Regions from separate parts of the Homo sapiens genome. Here region 1 is linked to region 2. The links are contacts of gene promoters, found by promoter capture Hi-C in human tissues and cell types (Jung and others, 2019). All regions are on one chromosome and are shown on one strand. The core of a region is centred on a gene start or on the middle of the fragment in contact, and the rest is flanking DNA. Distances in the headings are between cores, read along the strand shown. Region 1 overlaps KRT85 (keratin 85). Region 2 holds the start of KRT83 (keratin 83).

What was found. The method cuts DNA at HindIII sites, captures the fragments that hold promoters and counts their contacts. A contact is called where the count stands out against the background at its distance.
Region 1: a contact is called between a fragment that was not itself captured here and the fragment with the promoter of KRT83 in region 2, in 2 of the 25 tissues and cell types used here (adrenal gland and pancreas).

What each region holds. Positions count from the first base shown.
Region 1 is chr12:52,354,693-52,360,547 of GRCh38, reverse strand. KRT85 (keratin 85) reads left to right here. Exons shown (of 9, transcript NM_002283.4): 9 at 1-542. Among named protein-coding and RNA genes, the nearest start is that of KRT85, 9.9 kb to the left of the region's middle. The HindIII fragment of the contact is 6,815 bases long and covers 1-5,622 here.
Region 2 is chr12:52,318,400-52,324,702 of GRCh38, reverse strand. KRT83 (keratin 83) reads left to right here and starts at 3,305. Exons shown (of 9, transcript NM_002282.3): 1 at 3,305-3,751; 2 at 5,339-5,547. The coding sequence starts at 3,368. The HindIII fragment of the contact is 13,306 bases long and covers 1,225-6,303 here.

The DNA of each region.
Region 1 (5,855 bases), core at 966-3,465, 37 kb before region 2:
ACCAGTCCCCCAGCGTGGTGGTCAGCACGGAAGCTCCACCTTCTGGGTGGAGGCGCCATCCTAACCATCCAGCCAGGCCACCCACAACCCGAGAATCAGGGAGAAAGTCCCTCCCCAGCAGCCCCCTCCTCCTGGCTGGGAAGAATGGTCCCCCAGCAAGCACTTGCCTGTTCATTCCTGTTCATGTTTTGCTTCTCTCTCAGACTGCCTTCCTGCTTCTGGGCTAACCTGTTCCAGCCAGGCTCCTCATGTGACCTCGCAGTTGAGAAGCCCATTATCGTGGGGCATCCTTTTGCCTACAGCCCCTGGTTAGGGCACTTTGGACAGGTCTTGCTATTCAGTGAACCTTTGTACATTTCAAAGAAGACTCCATGGCTGCTCCAGATGCCCCCTTGCTGGGTGCAGGTGGGGACTGTCCAATGCAGAGCTGGCGGGACAGAGAGTTAAGCCACTTCCTGGGTCTCCTTCTTGTGACTGTCTATGGGTGCATTGCCTTCTGGGTTGTCTCGATCTGTGTTTCAATAAATGCCGCTGCAATGCAAGAGCGTGTGGTCTTGTGAGCAACTTCTCCACTCCCTTCTTGCCTCATCTCCAGATGACCAATCCCAGTCCAGCCCCATGCAGTGTTTCCCCAGTCACCCCCCAGAAACTCTGCTGCTTCCTGTCCACTTCCACAGTCTGATTCCACTCAGTCGCCCTCAGTCCCCTCAGGCCTGGACTACAGCCCAGCTCCCCACTAATGACCTCTTTCTCCCTGACCCACCCTGCGTACTCCCAGCAGCCAAAACTCCATCCCAAACTCACTGCTCTCACCCTCTCCTGCCTGGCTCAAGTCACTTCCTGGCACATGTGTGTGCTTCTTATGCCAAATGCAGGCTTCCTCTGTCACCTCCTTCCCCAGCTACTCCTCAGCCCTGTCCAACCCCTCCATGCGGTGCTCATCCTCCCAGTCATGGACTCCACCCCAAGGAGACAAGTCTACCCTCTGAGGCAGCCCAGAGACACTCTCTCCTACATACCCCTTGTGGACACATAGGCCATCCCACATCCCTCCTCCCATTTGCCTTTGCTCAGGGCCCTCCTCTGCTCCCCAAAGCTACCACCCTCACCCCTACACCCCCCAGCCCTCCCCCGCCCCCATCATATAGTGTCTGGAACCCTGAGAATCTCTGGTTTTGTCTCTGCGGATCTGGGCCAGGGATGTCAACGGGTGTGTCTGGATCAAGCTGGAAATTCCATAAGGACAGGAAGTATCTCCTCCTGGCTCTGACCTCCCACTGAGTCCCAGGATGGGGCTCCAAGATATGCCAGGCCTGGGATGTGCTGGATGAATGCAGGCAGCTGGTGCAGCAGGAGGTAGAGACATCCAGTCCTCTTGCCCTCAGCTCCATCTCCCCATTAGCTGTCACCGTCATCAAGCAGGTGTCTGCCAGCCCCCTGCTGCCCCATCCTGCAGCCTCTTTCTCTGAGAGGAGAAGATAGGGCCTTGTGCATCCTCACTTTAGGCCCAAAGGGCTGTAGCCCCACTGGAGGCTGCTGGCTGCTTCTGAGTGCTTAGGCTGCTGCTCTGTTTGAGGTTTGCTGGCTGACACCTGGCGGGCCTCCTCCAGGTCTCTTGCCTGCTGCCTCCTTTTTCCCAGCTGTTTGGGCCCTGAGGGCATGGTGACAATCACAATAGGCCAACTTTCAATTTAGGGGACATCATTCACCCACAGGAAACGTTAAATCCCAGGGGCTGAAACATCAGGAAATGGAAATTTGAGCCCCAATTCTGCCAAGACTGCCAGGTCTCGGTGAGTCCTTGGGCAGGAAGTGGCTTTCATGCTTTGCATGTCAGTCTGGGGTCTATGAGATGAGTGGGTAGAGTCCTTACCAGGTCTGCTGCCTCCTATGGTTCTGAGATGCTACAGAGAGTCTATGCTTGGGGAAAACAGCTTCATGTTACCATGGATCTGGGCTGAGCAAAACAAAAATGCCAAATCTGATACCCAAAAAATAACGGCACCATGGATTGAAAAGTCAAACAGCCAGAACCTGGGAGATAGGAATGAATTTTTTAATACATTTCCGTGCTTTGTGTGCAAATACCATTCAACAGATTCAGCTGGCCAGAGGTGCCTTTTGCTTATGGGGAGGTAAGCCTCTGCCCCAGCCCTCCTTGCAGCCAACAGCAAAAACCCACCACAGCAAGCTCTTCTGGCTCAAAGGATGCTGGGGCTCCTGCAGCTCTCTCCTGATCAAAGAACTATTCCCCTCGGAATGCAAAGGGTACAGTCCAAGGGTAACTAAGGATTAACATTTTATTAGAAAGAAAAAATTCTGAAGAAGTCAAGTGACCTGAAATTGAGAGATCGAGGAAAAGCCAGAAGTTCAAGAGGCCCAAACAATAAAGTGGGCCATGGGAGTGATCCCAGATCTCTGCCCTGGGCTCCTTCCTGCTTAGAAACATCACAAACCAAGCTAACACCAGCATCAGAGAAAATCAGACCTGCTGTCTGTATTCAATTCTTATGTAAATGTTAGTGATATCCTTCCCCACAAACACACAAAGCTTCCAGAGGATTAGAAGTATGGATAATAACCTGTTCAAAGAAACAGGTACGCTTGGGATTTGTCATCTTTTCCTTTCTCCTGAAACCACTAACACTCCACCACCAATTCTCAACCCACTCTGCTTCAACCCATCCTCACAAACACCTATGCCCAAGAGAGTTCCTTCCCCCAGCCCGTGTCTCTAACTGTTCCCTGCTTCAATCTTTGGGATCTCAGAAAATAGAATTTTGTGTTACTACTCACATTAGCCAAGCATAGTGAGGAACACAAATTAACCATATTATCAAGAAAATTACCAAGTATGTTCTGTGTAGACACGGACATGACCATGTGGGACTTAATGTCCCCTTGTCTGGGTTATTCACACTCCTGTCTCTCTCTGGGAACATGAGCATTAGGAAGTGACTGTACTAAGTGTTTTGCTCATTGAGGATCAGAGCAACAACGACATGGGCACTAAGCGCCACACTCCTTGGGTGTAGGGACATGCCAGGCAGAACAAGCAATGGGAGAGGCTTATTTCACAGAGCCTCAGGCCACCTTCCTGCCTCCCCCAACCCCCAACCCCCAACCTGTGCATGCCTGGAAATCCCTGCTCATTTCCGCTTTGTTCAAAAACCGAGGGCTCCCCCATGTTGGCAGGGGAGCAGCCAGGGAGTGGGGTGAGGCGGGGACAGCATGATAAGCTTACGCATTAAAAATGAAGAAAATACCCAAGGCATTCATAGACAAATAGCCACCCTCCACCACCATCAAAAGGAAACACAGACCCTTCCCCAGTCCACAGTCCCATGCCCCAGGGCAGCCAATGCCCCCTGAGACACCGTTTCCTCCTCAGAGTCACTCTGGTGACCCTTTTAACCTGGCTTTACTGCTGCTCAAACTTGGTGGGATCCGGACTGTGATGGGCAGGCCCCTGCAAGACCCTTTGGTCCGGGAGACAGAGACAAGGGAAGCACCACCCTACTAAGATAGACCTCTGTCCGCCCAGGTCAAGTCACTGCCTGGCCATTGTGGTCACTGAAACAGAGTCTGAAGACATCAGAAGAACTGCGTGGCCGAGGAGAACCATTCAAAGGCTCTTCTCTGTTATGTCGCCCGTGCAGTGCTGGCCCTCTGGATGCGAGAGACTCGGGATGGGAAGGCGAGTCACCGTCCAGGCCAGCAGGACTTCCTCAGCCTCGGTGGTCCGCAGGCCACCTGGGTGGGGACAGTTTACAGTGTAACAAGGGGCCTGCAGGTCCTCCCTGCAGGTCCCCACTTTGGCCCCGTCTCCCGTTGAGGCCACCGTTGTCCCCCATCTCCCCACCCACGAGAGTCAGGGGCCACACCCCTCCTACCCCCACCCTCGCTTTGCTCACGGGTCGCCCCGTGCCCTGCCCTGCCTGCCTGCCCACCGTCACGTCCAGCCACCGGGTATCCTGGGCCCATCTCCAGATGCACGGCGCGGGCCCTGCTGGAGCCCGCGGGATCAGATCCACAGGGGCCTTGGGTCCTTGGCTCACGCAAGGTTCGCGCCTCGGCGCCTCTGGACTGGTTCCTGAGTCTTCTGCCGTCCGCCGGGATCCCGCCGCCTGCGCCTCTCTCAAACGCGCCCGCCCTCCACGCCTGGGCCCCGGCTGCCCTCCTTCACCCCTGCCCGAGACGCCCCGCGTCCCGCCCTTAGCCTCTAACCCCAGTGGTGAGGGGCCTAGGGGCTGGGCGCCGGGAGGGACGGGAGGGCGAGCTGGGCGCCACCTGCCCGCCGTTTTGGGGTAGTGGGCAGGGTGTTTGGGGGTTATTGGCTGCTCAGGGCTGCCCCGTGACATGCCCATAGCACCGTGGCCGGGGTCGGCGCCCTCCTCTCCGAAGTCTAGGTGCCTAGTGCGTCCTGGCACAGAGGTTTTATAAAGACCCTCGGGGGTCGCCCGTCTGCAGTGAATGGGATGTGGGGAGCGAACCCGCAGGTAGTCAAAAGGCCAGGCCCTGCTCCCCCAGACTCCACCCCTAGGCCGGGGTGCCAAGCCATTGCCTTGGCAGGTCCGGAGCTGGTACCAGAAGGTTTGGCAATGTGCGTGAGCACCATGGAAAAGAAAAGAAAAAAAAAACCTTTTAAAGACTTTTCTATGTCATGAGATCAGATATGCATTCTTGTGGCAAAATGTTTCCTACCCAGTCAGGCTTAAAAAAAAAAAAGTTCCAAATAAAATAAGGTGGGAGAAATAGTTCTTCCTGTACAACAAGTGAAAGAAAGTTGACCTTCAGAAACCCCTGTCTCCATTCATCACATACAGGTGAGACAGCCCTAGGTAGGACTTCTAGGGAACTGTCAGTTCAAGAGTAGGCCAGACATACAGTTCACCAATCAATTGCCTCTGACCAGGTTATCAGGGCAAATGCCTTCCAACCACGTGTCTGAGCTTTGATCTTGGGTTCCCATATAAAAGGCTTGTATTAACCGCCCCGTGGTACGATCTGTCCGAGATTCTTGGAGAACAGAACCTACGGGGAGATGTTTCTACAAATGCTTCTAGGAGGTCCCATGTGTCACCTTCCATCTCATCTCCAAAGTGTCAGACAGCTGGTGAAGGAGCATCAGGCAGAACTCCTCCGGAAGCATCTGATGAGCCGGAATGTTTAGCCTGAGGAGCAATTAGGGAAATGCTGTGGAAACATTTATGAACAGCAGCATTCCCTAGACATGAGTTTGAATTCTGGACTAGCTGGGTAACTTAGTAAAGCTACTTCTTTGAGCCTTAATTTATTTATACGTAAAATGAGGATAATATTCTGGTTGCTGTGAGAAATTAATGAAATACATATATAATGTGCCAGACACCTAGCAGGTGTTTAACAAATACAGGCTCCCTTCCTCACCCCTTTTGTACCTTTGCCCCCACCTTGCCCTGGTGTGTGTGTGGCCCAGACCATGGCTCTGACCTTTTAGCCGCAGACAAAGGAGAAATGCAAAGGGGCTAGACCGATCCAGTGAGAATCAGAGGGACAGTCACTTCCATGGCCAGAATTATCCGACCCTCCTCTTCCCTCTACCCACATCAACCTGTGGTTCTCAAGCTTTAGTTCTTCTAGGAATCACCTGGAAGCTTCTTAAAATACAGATTCCTGGGCTCATCCCTAGAACTTTTGATTGAGAGTTCCAGATGGAGCCCAGGATCTGCACATTTAGCAACTACCCCACAGGGATTCTGATGCAGGTGGTGGTCGGTGGACCACATTGTGAGATGCACCAAGACAGTCAGGGCTTTGGGTGGGTTGGGAAGACAATGAAGGAGGCAGGCATTAACTTGGTTACTAAGAAAAAG
Region 2 (6,303 bases), core at 2,056-4,555:
ATGACTTCACTGCAGCAGGCTTCCCATGGAAATGTCACTTCCACAGCCAGGTGAGCAACAGACCTGTGGCCAGGCACACCTGGAGAAGACCAGAACAGTCCCCTTTTACTCAACGATTTCACCTCCAGGAATTTGTTTTAAGGAAATTACTAGACAGGTGCCCAAAGATGTGTTTACTAATGTTCATTTCAGAGTTGTTTATCAAAAATCCATTAAGAAGGCACAAAAAATGTGAAGCAACATGGATATTAAGGCAAGAAAGAAGTGACAAAAGTCAGAGTATCAGAGTGTCAGAAACCCAGCAGACAGGCAGGTAGACACCAGAAAAGCACACAGGAATAAGGCCAGGGGGTTGCACCCCAAGAGAGACAGGTGGGAATCTGAGGACCAGATCAACAGGGCAAGCGGTCATTCCTCCAGGCCAACCCAGACCAGGTGTGAAGGGCAGGCACAGAGTCCAGGCCCTGGTGACTGAAACAGCCTGTGGCTCTGCCGGACCCTTTATGGGCCCATGGTTAGGGCGGGAACCAATCACAGCCTGGAGCCCAGGAGGGAAGAGGCAGCCTGGGGATTTGGGTGCTGCTGTCTCTTTGTCAGCTTCCTGTCTAAGTCTGTTTTCAAGGGACTCCTGGTCTGCAGTTCTCTTTGTTCTGAGCCATTTACAAATAGATGCTCTAATTAAGGCTTTCTGAGGCGGCAATGATTGCCTTGTAAAACTGCTTTCTGCTTACCCAGGAATGGTACTCTGCATCTCACTAGCCGTGTACACTGTCCCTTTGCAAGGCCCTGCCAGGTGCCTGCAACCAAGACCCAGTCACCCTGCTAGCACAAAGTGAGGTGGGGGTGGCGCTTCCCTCCACCAGGCACTCGCTCGGTCCTCCCAACCTCCAGCAAGCTGTGGATTACCATTTATATTTCACAAGTAAGGACCCTGGGGGAAAACGCCTGTGCCATGGCACAAAGCTAGTAAGAGATATAGTTGGGCTTCGAATTGTGTCTTTTTATCTCCAGGGTCCATGCTATCTTCAGAGCCAATCAGGGCAGGGGTGGGCATGGTCATGGCTCCCCCATCCCAAGGAGGTCATGTGTCTACACAGAGCCCCTCGGTGGAGGGGTCCAACATGATCCAAGCCTGCTGGATTGAGACAGATGAGCCAGGTCAGAAGACAGCAGCGCAGTTTCCAGCATCGTGATGGAGAAATGCTTCACAGAGGGTTCACTGCCCTGCAGTCCTCAGCATTTCACCAAGAAACAGATCCCCCATAATCATTGGATATGTGTGGAGAGCATTCCAGGTGCTCACTGGTTCCAGTGTGGGTGGGTGAAGAGCCTGGTCTTTCTTGGCTGTCTAGCAGATGTTTGACCCAACCAAGACTGAACATGACAGCACCAGCCAGCCCAGCCTCCCTCAAAGATGCTCCCAAAATCCCACTAGCCACTCAGCTGCAGTCAGCCACCCCCAGGCCCCCCAGGTACCCTCAGGCTGTGCCTCCCTGGTGTGTCTTTCACACCAGGATCCCCTATCACACAGCCCACACCCCCAGAGTTCCTGCCCCAGACACAAGACTCTGGAAGCCTGTCCACAGGACCCAAGAAGAGAGGCTAGGAGAGTCCTTTTTTTGGATCCATGGCAGATGTCCAGCTCCCTAAGAGATTTCAACAGCACCATCGCCTGCCCTCCCTCAGGCCCACAGAAGATGGGCCCCTCTTCCATCATCCCCAGATCCCCACTCTGGGATATAACTGGCCCACTCATCCTGAGCGGGAGTGGGAAGGGCAAAAGATGAGAGTCACAGGAGGGTTACTATTAGCCCAGAGTGGGTCAGTGTTGGGTTGTGGCTGGGTCAGGACACAGGTCCATCAGTGGAGTCCTCCTCATCCTCTCCTGACGAAAGCAGTCCAGAGATGTGTGTTTGGAAGGGTTGATGGGCTCAGGTCCTCGGGTTAAGGCAAACCTCCTGGCTCGGTCCGACTGTCCATCCATCAAAGCCATTGCCTGTCCTAACCCAAAGGAACAAGGGCCCAAAGTAAGAGAGCTTGGCTTTAGGAACAGCCACATGAGCTAGCACCCTTCTCTCACCCAGTGTGTTCTCTGAGGTGAGAGAGTGATCTCATTTAAGGACCCTGCTGATGTCCCTCACCTCCCGCACCTTCCCTCCTTCCTGGTGAGTACATACACCCCAAGACCCCATCACTGAGCTTCCCTGCTGGGAACCTAAAGAACACCAATCAGCCTGGACATTGTGAGGGCCTTCCCCCCATCTGTGGCTTCTCATCTTTCCCCCTAGCCAAATGTTGGCTCCCCCACATGCATGCTACCTCCAAACACCCCAGGTCTCTGTAGGATTTCCAGAACCTAGCACAGTGGCTAGTGCATAGTTGGTGGGCACCAAATAAGTATTTCCTGAATAAATGAATAAATGAATAAATGAATAAATGAATACACATAGTCTAGTCTGCAAATCAGAGCCAGACTCTTTTCTGGTCATCTCTCAATCCTGTACTACCCCACCCCAATCCTCCTCAAGCCCAGGTCCCCACTCTCCTCCATGAGTCCCTGGAGCTCTGAGGTATTCCACACTCCCCGCTCCTGATCCCATCAGCAATGACACCTGGAACTCTGAAGCATAGCCCTGGCACTGTCCTGAACTCTCTGAATCAGTTTCTTCCATGTCCCAGATGGTGTCCCTGCACTAGGAATACCCAAAGTGCAAAGAACATGCCCTCCTCCCACCCCAAATCTCTACCCCCACTCCCATCCTTGACCAGGCTCTGAGCAGGAATAGGATAGGAGCGGCCAATCTTGACAATGAGGAAAGGAACCCGCCTTTGAGAAAAAGACAGGAAAGCCTACAGCAAGAGGTTGTCTCAGAGGCAGCCCCCTCCTTGGGACAGGCCAGCCACTCCACCCCAGGGCTTGGCCATGGGTCCAGGGCCCATAGCCTAGCTCTGCCCCTTTCAGAACAGGGTTCAGAGAGCAGGCTTTACCCCAGGTCACTGCACCCATTCCCCTCGCTTGGACCGCAGAATGCAACTAATGCTTTCAGGAACCCCTCTCCCCGCTCCACAGCAGTGCCAGTGGGAGGGGCAGGAGCAAGGAGGAAGCTTATAAAGGGCTTTGAAGATGAAACAGGGCCCGTGGCCAGGGATTGTTGATGCAGCCACACTGAAGAGGCAAGCAGGGTTCTAGCTTAAGAGGCCAGGGTGATGCCAAGCCAATAAAATTCAGCTATTGTCTCTTTGCTCCCTCTTTTAACACCAGCTGCCCCTGGCACATAAAAGGGCCTGCCATCAGCCAGGGAGCACAGGCCCTTGGTTCCATCCTCTGCCATCTACTCCACTGTTCAGACACCTCCTAACCTCCGTCATGACCTGTGGCTTCAACTCCATAGGCTGTGGGTTCCGCCCTGGAAACTTCAGCTGTGTCTCTGCCTGCGGGCCCCGGCCAAGCCGCTGCTGCATCACCGCCGCCCCCTACCGCGGCATCTCCTGCTACCGCGGCCTCACCGGGGGCTTTGGCAGCCACAGCGTGTGCGGGGGCTTCCGCGCCGGCTCCTGCGGACGCAGCTTCGGCTACCGCTCCGGGGGCGTGTGCGGACCCAGCCCCCCATGCATCACCACCGTGTCGGTCAACGAGAGCCTCCTCACGCCCCTCAACCTGGAGATAGACCCCAACGCGCAGTGCGTGAAGCAGGAGGAGAAGGAGCAGATCAAGTCCCTCAACAGCAGATTCGCGGCCTTCATCGACAAGGTGGGTGTCGTCCTGGATCACACCCTTCCTGAACCCCTACTCATGTTCAGAACTCAGGCTGGGCACTGACAGGGAAGTCAAAGGCAAGAACTTGCCCACAGAAGTTCCCAGGCCAAAGGGAAAGGTAGTCATACTTCTAGGACACAGACAGAAAGACAAAAATGGGACCGGGAGCTACCAGACTGATGGGGGAGATTAACTGAAAACACAAAAGCAGAACGAGGGGCAGAGCCTTCCACACTGAGTGATAATATCACCTAGTGAGCAAAGGACCACTGTGTGGGCGCTCAGGGCATTTGAAGCCAAATAACTGCTTAAATGCCAAGGAGATGCTGTCTCCATCAAGGCAGGGCTAATAAGTGTGGTGCTGGAAAACTGTCTGGAAGTGGGTCTCGTGGATGGCACAGAACTCTTTCTATACCACACAGTGATTTGGCCACTGAGCAGGGTCTAGAGTATTTTGTCCAAGCCACTGTTCCTGGGGCTCAGGATCCAGGGGTGAGCAAGAGTCATGGTCCCCATCCTCACAGGCTTTATGGGGAGGCAGGCAGTGCACAGTCTGGGTTTGGTTGAAACCATCTGTGTAGTCAGTGTCCAACTAGAGTTTGCAGCCACCTTCTCCACTGAATCCAGGCAACCACCATGTGGCAGTGATGTGAGAGACTGGGAGAAAAGGCTCTGACTAGGAACATGTTCTGGGGTTGGAAAGAGCCCTCCAGAGCCAAAACCTCAAGAGAGGAGTCACACTAGAGAGATGCCCACCAGAAAGGATCGGGAAAAAAAAATGTGGAATTTCTAATAGCATGAGAGACCAAGGATAGCATAAGATAGGACCTACCAAGGGTGTGGCCAAGTTATTAGACAAAAGAAGCTGAGTGGAGTAGTGGGCCAACCTCATCGCTGGGAGAGGGATGTTCCTATAATTGTCAAAGGGAGAGAAGACACCCCCTGCAGCGCAGAAGATCGGAGTTTGAGCTCTTCTCTGCCACTGTGAGCTCTCAGGCAGTCAGGGAACCTCCTTGGCCTCATCAGTAAAATAAGGGGGTTGGAGCACAGGACATTCCTACTCTCATATTGCAGGTGACTATTATTCTAATTGCATTGTTGTTGTAGGGTTTGAATAATTGGCACATGCTTTATTTTTCAACTTTTACAGTTTGCCTTTCTAAAAAGGTCCACCTGGCTTGGTGTGATTGAACAGCAGTAGCTGTTCAGTGTGGGGTGCCTTTCTGTTAAAGGGTTCTTTTAATCCTCATAGTAAGGTGAGCTTTAACCTCGCCACTCTACAGAGGAGGTGAGTGCTTTATCCAAGGGCACAATGTTAACAAGTGGCAGCAGAATCTGGACTCTTCAAGCATTTTCCATGACACCAGGTAAACTGACTTAGAAGAGATTAACTCCCAGGAAGAACTTCCAGGTGGTGAACTGGTTAAGCCCTGGTGGCATTTTTGAGAGAGATGACATAACGCCTTCCAGGGAAGACTCTGGGTCAGAGAGTTGGGGGCTTTCAGGCCCTCGTGCTGGGAACCCCTCTTTGTCCTCTGATGCTGCAAGAAGAGGTTCTTAGGCTCTGCCTCTGGGTGGCAGGTGCGCTTCCTGGAGCAGCAGAACAAGCTGCTGGAGACAAAGCTGCAGTTCTACCAAAACCGCGAGTGCTGCCAGAGTAACCTGGAGCCCCTGTTTGCTGGCTACATCGAGACTCTGCGGCGGGAGGCCGAGTGCGTGGAGGCTGACAGTGGGAGGCTGGCCTCAGAGCTCAACCACGTGCAGGAGGTGCTGGAGGGCTACAAGAAGAAGTGAGTGTGGGCAGGAGGGGTTCTGGGCACAGGAAATAGCATGGTGGCAGCTCCCTGAGCCCGGAGGAGTATCCAGTCTGCAGCTGGCATCTCTGCCTGAGAGTGGAGAAGAACCTGTACCCCCTGTTTGAGACACAGGGGTCCCTTGGGTGTGGGGGATGGAGGCTCAGCTTGTCTTTCCACCAGCAGATCAGGGAAACAATGCTCTCTCCCTTTCTCCATCCATTTTTCACAAAAACTTGTATTCCTGGGTCCCTTTGAGACCAGATCTCAAAGTCCTGGACATGTGTCTTCCTAAGTTTGCTCTCTCACTCAGCTAACACTATCTGATCACCTACCACATGCAGCACGCTGTGCTGGTGATAGTGACACAGGGCCACGCAAGCCACACAGTGCGGGTTCTTGTGGAGCCTGCAGTCTGCTGGAAGGCAGTCATGACAGAGCCACAGATCTAGCCCTTCAGCTACAAAGTGTGATATATGGTATGAAGAATACGCACTGGATCCTCAGAAGGAATCTGCTTTTGAGGGGTGGCCAGCTTCCTTCAGTAACATTCTCTCCATGGACTCCCCAGGCCCAGCATACCCCTCCCTCCCTGTCTCTGAGCTGCCTCCCACAGCTCAGGCCAGGAGGGGAGAGACAGAGCGAGGATCCCACCACCTGCAGCTGAGTGGGGGCAGGGGAGGGCTCGAAGGAAGAAAAGATGGAGACCTAGGCGAGAAAAACAGCACCTCCCACTCCCCAACCACACACATT